Regions from separate parts of the Homo sapiens genome. Here region 1 is linked to region 2. Evidence: promoter capture Hi-C in 16 types of primary human blood cells and fetal thymus (Javierre and others, 2016). All regions are on one chromosome and are shown on one strand. Each heading gives the region's core, a stretch centred on a gene start or on the middle of the fragment in contact. The rest is flanking DNA. Distances are from core to core; before and after follow the strand shown.

Region 1 (4,801 bases), core at 1,142-3,641, 160 kb before region 2:
TGACCTCAGGTGATTCACCTGCCTTGGCCTCCCAAAGTGCTGGAATTATAGGTGTGAGCCACTGTGCCCAGCCCGTGAAAGGTTTTTTATATGCTGAATACTAACACTTTGTATTGCGTTCCTTTCTGGGTCCTCTATATTCTATTTCGTTGATCTCCATGTCTGTCTTTTCACTAATACCACACTGACCTCGTTGCTATAGCGATATAGGAAGCCTTAGTATCAGGTAGAGTAATTCCTCCCACTTTATTCTTGTTTGTCAAGATCATTTTAATTAACCTATTTCCTTTGCCTTTTGCATATACATTTTAGAATAAGCTTATTTTTGCCTACAAAATACCTTGCTGGTAGTTTGATAGGGATTACATTACACTGATAGATTAATTTGAGGATAATTGAAAAGTCTTCCAGTCCATGAACATGGAATGTCTCTACATTTATTTCGGTCTTTTAAAATCTCTTTTATCAGCATTCTCTAAGAGCATCCAGATCCTGTACATGTTTTCTTAAGTGTATAGCTAGATATTTCACTTTCTTTGGGGCGATTATAATGGTGTTGTGTTTTTAATTTCAGTTTCTGCATGTTCATTGTTAGCCTGTAGAAATGCTTTCTTTTGTGTGTTTGTATCCTACCACAGTGCTGAAATCACTTACTGGTTCCAGGAGTTTGTGTGTAGATTCCTTGTGATTTCTACATAGACAATGTGTCATCTGCAAATAGGGACAGCTTTATTGCTTCCTTTCCAATCTCGATGCCTTTATTTATTGGTCTTGCATTAATGCAGGACCTAGATCTTCCAGTGCTTTGTTGAGAAAGAGTGGGGAAGGTTGTCATCCTCGTCGTGTTCTTGATGGTGGGAGAAAAGCATTTACTCTTTCACCATGAAGTATGATGTTAGCTGTAGGTTTTTCTGTGGGTGCTCCTAATCAATTTGAGGTCATTCTCCTCTATTTCTAACTTGCTGAGAGTTCTTATGAATGGGCATTGGATTTTTTCCAGTGCTGCTTCTGCTTCAATAGATGTAATCATATGATTTTTCTCCTTTAATCTGTTGATATGTTAGATTACATTGATTGGTTTTCAAATGTTGGGTCACTCTTACATTCCTAGAAAATATCCACTTGGTCAGGGTGTATAATTATTTTTATACATTGTTGTATTGATTGCTAATATTTTGCTGAGTATTTGTTGAGTTCATGAGAGATATCTCTCTGGAGTGCCTTTTTTGTAATGTCTGTCTGGTTTAGATATCAAGATAATACTGGTCTCATAATAGGAGTTGGGAAGTATTATTTCCTCTTCTATTTTCTAGAAGAAATTGAGAATTGGTGTTAATTCTTTAAATGTTTGTTAGAATTCTCCAGTTGAAATGATCTGAGCTTAGCTGTTTCTTTTTTGGGAGTTTTTAAATAATGGACTAAATGTCTTTAATGGTTATAGCACTATTCAGATGATCTGTTTCATCTTGGTTGAGTTTTAATAGTTTTTGAGGAGTTCATCCATTTCTTCTAAATTGTTGAATGTATGAGTGTAATTAATGTTCATTTTATTCCCTTGTTATCCTTTTAGTGGCTGTGGGATCTGTACTGATATCTCTTCTTTCATACCAGATATTGGTGATTCGTGTCTTCTCTTTCTTTGTTTTTGTCCATATTGGTAGACTTGTATCATTTTATTGATTTGTTTCCCAGAGAACCAGACTTTTGTTGGATATTCCCTGTTGTCTTCCTGTTTTCAGTGTCATTGATTTCTACCCTCGTGTTTATTGTTTCCTTCTGTCTGCTTGCTTTGGGTTTATTTTGCTCTTCTTTTCTAGTTCCTTGAGGGAAGAACTTACTGACTTGAGACCTTTCCCTGTTACTAGTAAGCATTTAGTTCTATCAGTTTCCCTCTCTGCACTGCTTTAGCTATTTCTGACGTATTTTGGTATGTTGTATCTTCGTTGTCATTCACGTCTATGTATTTTTTGGTTTCGTTTGAGGCTTCCTCTTTAGCCCACCCCTACTTAGAATTGTGCTGTTCAATTTTGCTGTGTTTAGAGATTTTCTGTTGTCTCCCTATTACAGATTTCTAGTTTGATTCAATTATGGTTAAAGAACACACACTGTATGGTTTTGATTATTTTAAGGCTCTTGAGGTTTGTTTTATTACTCGGGATATGGACTGTCTTGATGGATATTCCATGGGTGCATGAAACGTGTATACCACTACGGTTGTGTGGAGTGTTCTTTGTATGGCAATTGCATCATGTTGATTAATTGAGTTATTCAGCTCTTCTGTTTCCATGCTGATTTTCTGTCTAGCAGTTCTATCACTTGATGAGAGGGGCATGGAAGTCCCCAGCTGTAATTGTGGATTTGTCTATTTCTCCTTCCAACACTGTCAGTTTTTCTTGATTTCTTCTGGGCCTCTTGTTTGATACTCACATGTATATTAGGGTCTTTGTGTCTCCCTAGTGGATTGATCTTTTTATCATAATGTAATACCTCTCTTTCTAATAATTTTCCTTGCTCTGGAGTATACTTTATTGTATATTACTGTGACCAGACCTGCTTTTAAAAATTGTTTGGACTTTTTCCATCCTTTTACTTTCAAACTATTGATGTTATTGAATTTGAAGTGAGTTTCTTGGAAACAGCCTATAGCTGGGTCATGTTTCTTTACCCACACTACTGATGTTTCTTTTGATTGGTGTATTTAGACCACTTACATAAAAGGTGATTATTGGTATGGTAGAGCTTAAGTCTACCATTTGATTATTTGGTTTCTTTATGTTTCTTCTGGTTCTTGTTCCTCTGTTTCTTTTTTCTTGCCTTGCTGTGGATTACTTGAATATATTTTAGGATACTGTTTTATTTATAGTACCTTTGGGTGTATTTGTATAGTTTTTATGATGGTTGATGTGAGTATTACAATATATATATGTGACTTATAGTCGATTGGTAACAACATTTATTACTTTGAGTCACCTTACTTTTATTTAGGTCACTTTACCTTTTTCATTTTTAAATATTGTTGTCTTAAATATCAGACAGTATTATGATTTTTGTTTTAATCATCAAGTATGATTTGTAACACTGATTAATAATGATGCTTGAGGAGAAGCATAATTTATTATATGTAGCCCAAATTTCTACTCTATTATTCTTCCCTCCTTCCTGATGCTTCAAGATTCCTTCTTTTATTATTTCCTTTCTATTTGAAGAAATTCCTTTAGCCAGTCTCAGGGTATGTCTGCTAGTGACACATTCTTTTGGTTTCCATTTGTGTGAGACTACCTCTGTTTTTAGATTTAGTTTCCCAATTTTTTTTTTTAATTTTTTTTGGAGACAGTGTCTTGCTCTGTCACCCAGGCTGGAGTACAATGGTGCAATCTCTGCTCACTGCAACCTCCGCCTCTTGGGTTCAAGCAATTCTTGTGCTCAGCCTCCTGTGTAGCTGGAACTACAGGCGCATGCCACCACACCCTGCTAATGTTTTGTATTTTAGTAGAGACGGGGTTTCACCACGTTGGCCAGGCTGGTCTCGAACTTCTGAGCTCAGAAAATCCACCCACTTTGGCCTCCCCAAGTGCTGAGATTACAGGCATGAGCCACCATGCCCAGCCCTAGTTTGCTAATATTTTACTTAGGATCTTCTATACTCACTACTGAGGTTGGCCATTAATTTCCCCTTCTTACCCTGTCCTTGTCCTGTCTTGATACCAAAGTTAGAATGAGCTGAAGAGCTTGTCCTCTCTTTTCTCTGGAACAGTGTATGTAATAATAGGGATTACTTGTTCCTTGAAAGTTGTTAGAAGTTGCTTATAAGCCATCTAGACATGGTGCCATGGTGGGTTTTGTTGTGAGCGGGGTTTTTTTGTTTTGTTTTGTTTTGTTTTGTTTTTTATCAGTCTTTACAATTGATTGGGTGTGAGGGACAATGGAAAGATCATCCCACTCTTCCCCAACAGTTGGTGATTCTCTGGTCATTTTAACAGCAAGAGAGGAAACAGTAATTTTACCAGCAATATGAATGTGAAGAAGTAGTTTTCTGAAAGCAGATGATGAAAATGGGGTGGGGAACCTAATCAGGTTCTGCAGGTGCCTGCAGTAATTCAGCGTATGAGATGGATATGAGAAATTCTTAGAAGAATCTAAAATCCTTATTAAACCTGAAGGTTGAATTCATCTCCAATACTGAGCTGCTAATATAGAGCAGTAGGGAATCACTGTAGATTAACCCCTTTAGTTTCTTGCTGGCTGAAGAAAGGTCTAATGACTCGGAAGCCTTTGAAAACCAAAGCATACATCCTTCTGGAATTTCCTTTTCTGCTGAAAGAAATACTAGCAGTGGCATGTGTGTGGTCCAGCCTCTTCAGCCGCACGATTCAAACACATCATATTCTAAAAGTCAGCAAGGCCACCACAGCTAATTACAACAACCCGAACAATACTGGCTAATTTCTTGTATTGGAAGCTTTGCCAGTGATGATGAAATGAATGTCATCCATTGTATCCCTTATTTTTGATAGCTGCAAAATTCTCCAGTTGTTCACATGTGTATATTTTGGTGCAGTAGTAAGACCTTTCACAAGCTTGCGAACTCTTCCAAACAGCTTCCAGACTCTACCCAACCTTACTTAGGCCTGATATAATTCTTTCTGTGTGCTAAGACAGTGTGAGATAGTACACAGTATCTTTTAGTTGGAGAAGGCAGCCCTCTAATCCTTAAAGCTTTTATTTCTGCAAAAACAATGAATCTGCTTTTATCACTGTTCCCTTAGTCTAAAGAATTGACTCATTTGTCAGCCTGAGGGAA
Region 2 (4,366 bases), core at 959-3,458:
GGGAGGCTGAGGCAGGAGAATCACTTGAACCCAGGAGACGGAGGTTGCGGTGAGCCAAGATCGCACCACTGCACTCCAGCCTGGGTGACAGAGCAAGACACCATCTCAAAAAAATAAATAAATTTGACATCTAAAATACCAAGTTGTAGCTCCACAAACAGGAAACAGCAATGCCTGAGTTTCTGGTTTGTGAAACTGAATTATATGAAATACTTAGGGTTTATATGCATACAGATGGTCCCGTGGAATGGTTCAACTCATATCTCCACTTTACCATGGTGCAAAAGCAATACGCATTCAGTAATTCGAGTACCCACGCAACCATTCTGTTTTCCACTTTGAATTCAGTATTCAGTAAGTTACATGACATAGTCAACACTTTATTATAAAATAGGCTTTGTGTTAGATGATGTTGCCCAACTGCAGGGGAGCTAAGTGTTCTGAGGACGTTTAAAGTTGGCTAGGTGCATTAAATGCATTTTCGACCTACCATGGGTGTATTGGGACATAATCCCATAGTTAAATTGAGGAGCATGTTATTTTATTTATTTATTTATTATTTTTTTGAGATGGAGTTTCACTCTTGTTGCTCAGGCTGGAGCGCCATGGCGTGATCTTGTCTCACCACAACCTCCGCCTCCCAGGTTAAAGCGATTCTCCTGCCTCAGCCTCCCGAGTAGCTGGAATTACAGGCATGCGCCACCATGCCTGGTTAATTTTTTTGTATTTTTAGTAGAGACGAGGTTTTCCCATGTTGGTCAGGCTGGTCTCGAATTCCCGACCTCAGGTGATCCGCCTGCCTCAGCCTCCCAAAGTGCTGGGATTACAGGGGTGAGCCACCACGCCCGGCCTCGGGCACGTTATTTTAAAAACACACCATCTCGGCGCGGTGGCTCACTCCTATAATCCCAGCACTTTGGGAGACCGAGGCGGGTGGATCACGAGGTCAGGAGATCGAGACCATCCTGGCCAACAAAGTGAAACCCCGTCTCTACTAAAAATACAAAAAATTAGCCGGGCATCGTGGCGGGCACCTGTGGTCCCAGCTACTCGGGAGGCTGAGGCAGGAGAATGGCGTGAACCCGGGAGGCGGAGCTTGCAGTGAGCCGAGATCCCGCCACTGCACTCCAGCCTGGGCTACAGAGCGAGACTCCGTCTCAAAAAACTAAAACAAAAATAAAAACAAAAAACACCATCTCAACTCCCTGACAATCTAAAGTTGGAACAGAAGCTTCTGATGTAGCCAGCCACCCAAATTCCCTTTTCACTTCCCTTTCACTCTGAAAAGCGCTTTTACTTTTAGTAGTATTAAAACTTCAAGAGCATTAGCCTCCCTAATAGTCCCTTTTATTCCTCCTATTAGATTATTTCTGTTCTTAAGAGGCAGCAGGAGGAGCCCTGTAACCAGCACGTAACCTTAGGCAAGGCCATGAACACGCCTGCGCCTGTTTCCTAACTTAAAGAGAAGCATTAGCCGGTCTCTAAGGTCCTGGAACTCCCGTCTGCTGTCGCTGGGCGTTCATTTGAAAGACAAAAGCGGTTCCGAAAGCACGCCCGGCGGTCCCTGCTCTGGGAGTGCTGACCTGCCTGTGTGCAGCACAAAACCGCTCCCTTCCGGCCCTCACAGCTAACCTGCAGTCCCCATCCCTCCAGCTTCCTTTCTGCCATAAATCACTAACTGTGTGGGAGATGAAATCCGCCTGGTGAAGGCTGGGACGGACAAAACACAGTATTCCAAAATCTAGGGCCCAAATCGGAGCCCTCGGAGACGCGGCCCCTAAAGCCAATGGGGTCCGGGGCGGCCCGGAAACTTCCGGGAGAACCGGACCCTGAGATTCTGGAAGGGCCAAATAGTGACCCTCTTCCCTAAAAATCACGGAAGAGACATGAAAACCACGGGATCTCCCTGGCAAACCTCAGGAGACAGCAGAGAACTGCGGAGCCGAGAAGGCGGGGCAAGAACTTCCGGGGTGGGGCTACGGCCGGGGCGCAGGGGTTGGCGGGCAGGGCCCTCGCCTCCAGCGACGCATCCACCCACCCCTGGGTCCGGCTCTACTGGGTTATCCTCGTTCCGCCGAGCAGGAGAGGCCGGGGGCGCCCGGGAGCTTGCAGGCGGGCGTGGGTGCTTGCGTTCTCTACTCGGGATCCGCGAGCAGGGCCAGCGAGAGGCCAAGTGTTGTGCCCTTCGCGACCCTCGCGTCTCTTAGTAACGCGATGAAGCTGCAGGAGCTCCCGGCTCCTTCAGGCCCCGCCCAGCTAGCTCAGGCCCCGCCCCCGGGAGTGGGCTTTTATGCGCATGCGCGAGGGCTGGGGTGGGCGCCGGCCCATCTTACTAAGCCAATGTAGGTCCCAGGTAGGAGCGCTGCCAGGGCTCACCCCTGAGCAGAGATGGAGGGCGAAAAAGGGTTACTTGCCGCTACTTGAATCCCAGACAAAATTCCCTGTGAAAGCGGATCACAGCACGGAGACTGTGTTTGTAGTTCCTGATAGTAGATATCTCCTATCTATTCATTTGCGAGGAATGAACCATTCCAGAGAGTCGCCATAGTGCCTGACAATCAGTAAACCTACAATAGATGATATCTATAGCTTTAATTATTTTTTCTAGCATTATCTATTACTATATTACAGTACTATCTAAGCGAAAAGTGATCAGATTCAAGATATACGGTTTTTTGTTTTTTTGTTTTTGTTTTTTTTTAGACGGAGTCTCGCTCCGTCGCCCAGGCTGGAGTGCAGTGGTGCTATCTCGGCTCACTGCAAGCTCCGCCTCCCGGGTTCACGCCATTCTCCTGCCTCAGCCTCCCGAGTAGCTGGGACTACAGGCACCCACCACCACGCCTGGCTAATTTTTTGTATTTTTAGTAGAGACGGGGTTTCACCGTGTTAGCCAGGATGATCTCGATCTCCTGACCTCGTCATCCACCCGCCTCGGCCTCCCAAAGAGCTGGGATTACAGGCGTGAGCCACCGCGCCCGGCCAATTTACATGTTTTGAATGTAGAGCCATCAGGACTTGTCAAATTGTTGAATGAAAGAAAGGAGCAATTGTGTGCTGGAGCCAGCTCATTAGAGCTCTGGAGACTCAGTAATTAAATTTTTAGGAATTTTTCTGAGCTCGTTGTTAAATACAAGCCATGAGCTGGAGTCAATGAAGATGACAAGGGCCTCGGGCACCTGCCCCAAACAAAACAAAAACACAAGACATATCACAAATTAAATTATATAAACTTCTAAATAAACGAGTCATACTAAAACAAAGGCAATACTTAGTAAAACTAAAAACAAAAAACTATTTACTTACAACTCCCAAATTTCTCTCTTCAGCCCGGTCTTTCTCTGAACTTTAGATTTGTATATCAATGTATATTCAACATCCACTTGATTGTACAAAACAACCTCCCCAAACACCTCCCTGCCAAAACAAAAACAAAAACCCTGCTCCTTCTTCATGTCTTTTAGTAGATGTGGCCTAGAGCCCTCTCTTTCCATATCCATCAATGCAACCTGCTGACTTTATAGCTTCTACTCAAGCCATCATAATTTTTCTTTTTTCTGGTAATTACAACCGTTCCCAACAGCTCTCTATGCCCCCTCTGTAGTCTGTTGTCAACACAACAGTCAATGCAATCTGTTTAAAACCTAAGTCAAGGCCGGGCGCGGTGGCTCACACCTGTAATCCCAGCACTTTGGGAGGCTGAGGTGGGCAGATCACGAGGTCAGGAGTTCGAGACCAGCCTGGCCAATATGGTGAAACCCTTTCTCTACTAAAAATACAAAAGAACTAGCTGGGAGTGGTGGCGTGCACCTGTAGTCCCAGCTACTCGGGAGGCTGAGGCAGGAGAATCGCTTGAACCCAGGAGGTGGAGGTGGAGGTGGAGGTGGCAGTGAGCCGAGATTGCGTCACTGCACTCCAGCCTGGGCATAGAGGGAGACTCCGTCTCAAAGAAAACAAAACAAAAAAACCTAAGTCAAATTATGTCAGTCCTCTGCTCACAACCCTGCAATGGCTTCCCATCTTATGGAGAGTGAAAACCAGAGGCTATACATGGTGAGCAAAGCCCTGTAAGATTTGCTCACAACACCCTCCCTCCTTCCTCTGTAGCCCCGGATCATTCTGCTGCAGCCACACTGGCCTAACACTGCCTAGCACACAGTAGGTGCTAAAGGGATATATTTTGAATCAGTATATTTCATCACTGCCCTTCCGATGCTGTGGAGGCAGCATGGCACGGTGGCTAGCAGTGTGTTGTCAGAGAGCACAGTGTCTAAAAGTGTGGTGGCCTTCTTGGATTTAAATCTGAGCTCTACTTACTATCAACATGACCCTGGACAAGCTACTTAACCTCCGTATCCTCAACTGGCAA

What was found. Contacts are between HindIII fragments. The CHiCAGO score rates a contact against its expected background, and 5 or more counts as called.
Region 1: a fragment that was not itself captured here is called in contact with the fragment with the promoter of MEIG1 in region 2 in 2 of 17 cell types (neutrophils and monocytes); the score reaches 6.8 in neutrophils.

Annotation. Positions count from the first base shown.
Region 1 is chr10:15,113,528-15,118,328 of GRCh38, reverse strand. All of the region lies in intron 9 of NMT2 (N-myristoyltransferase 2), which reads left to right. The region is part of intron 1 of LOC105376431 (a long non-coding RNA gene); the gene reads right to left. Among named protein-coding and RNA genes, the nearest start is that of RPP38, 19 kb to the right of the region's middle. The HindIII fragment of the contact is 4,141 bases long and covers 321-4,461 here.
Region 2 is chr10:14,957,230-14,961,595 of GRCh38, reverse strand. MEIG1 (meiosis/spermiogenesis associated 1) reads right to left here and starts at 2,208. Exons shown (of 3, transcript NM_001080836.3): 1 at 2,039-2,208. RefSeq lists a silencer at 1,936-1,985. The HindIII fragment of the contact is 3,683 bases long and covers 1,234-4,366 here.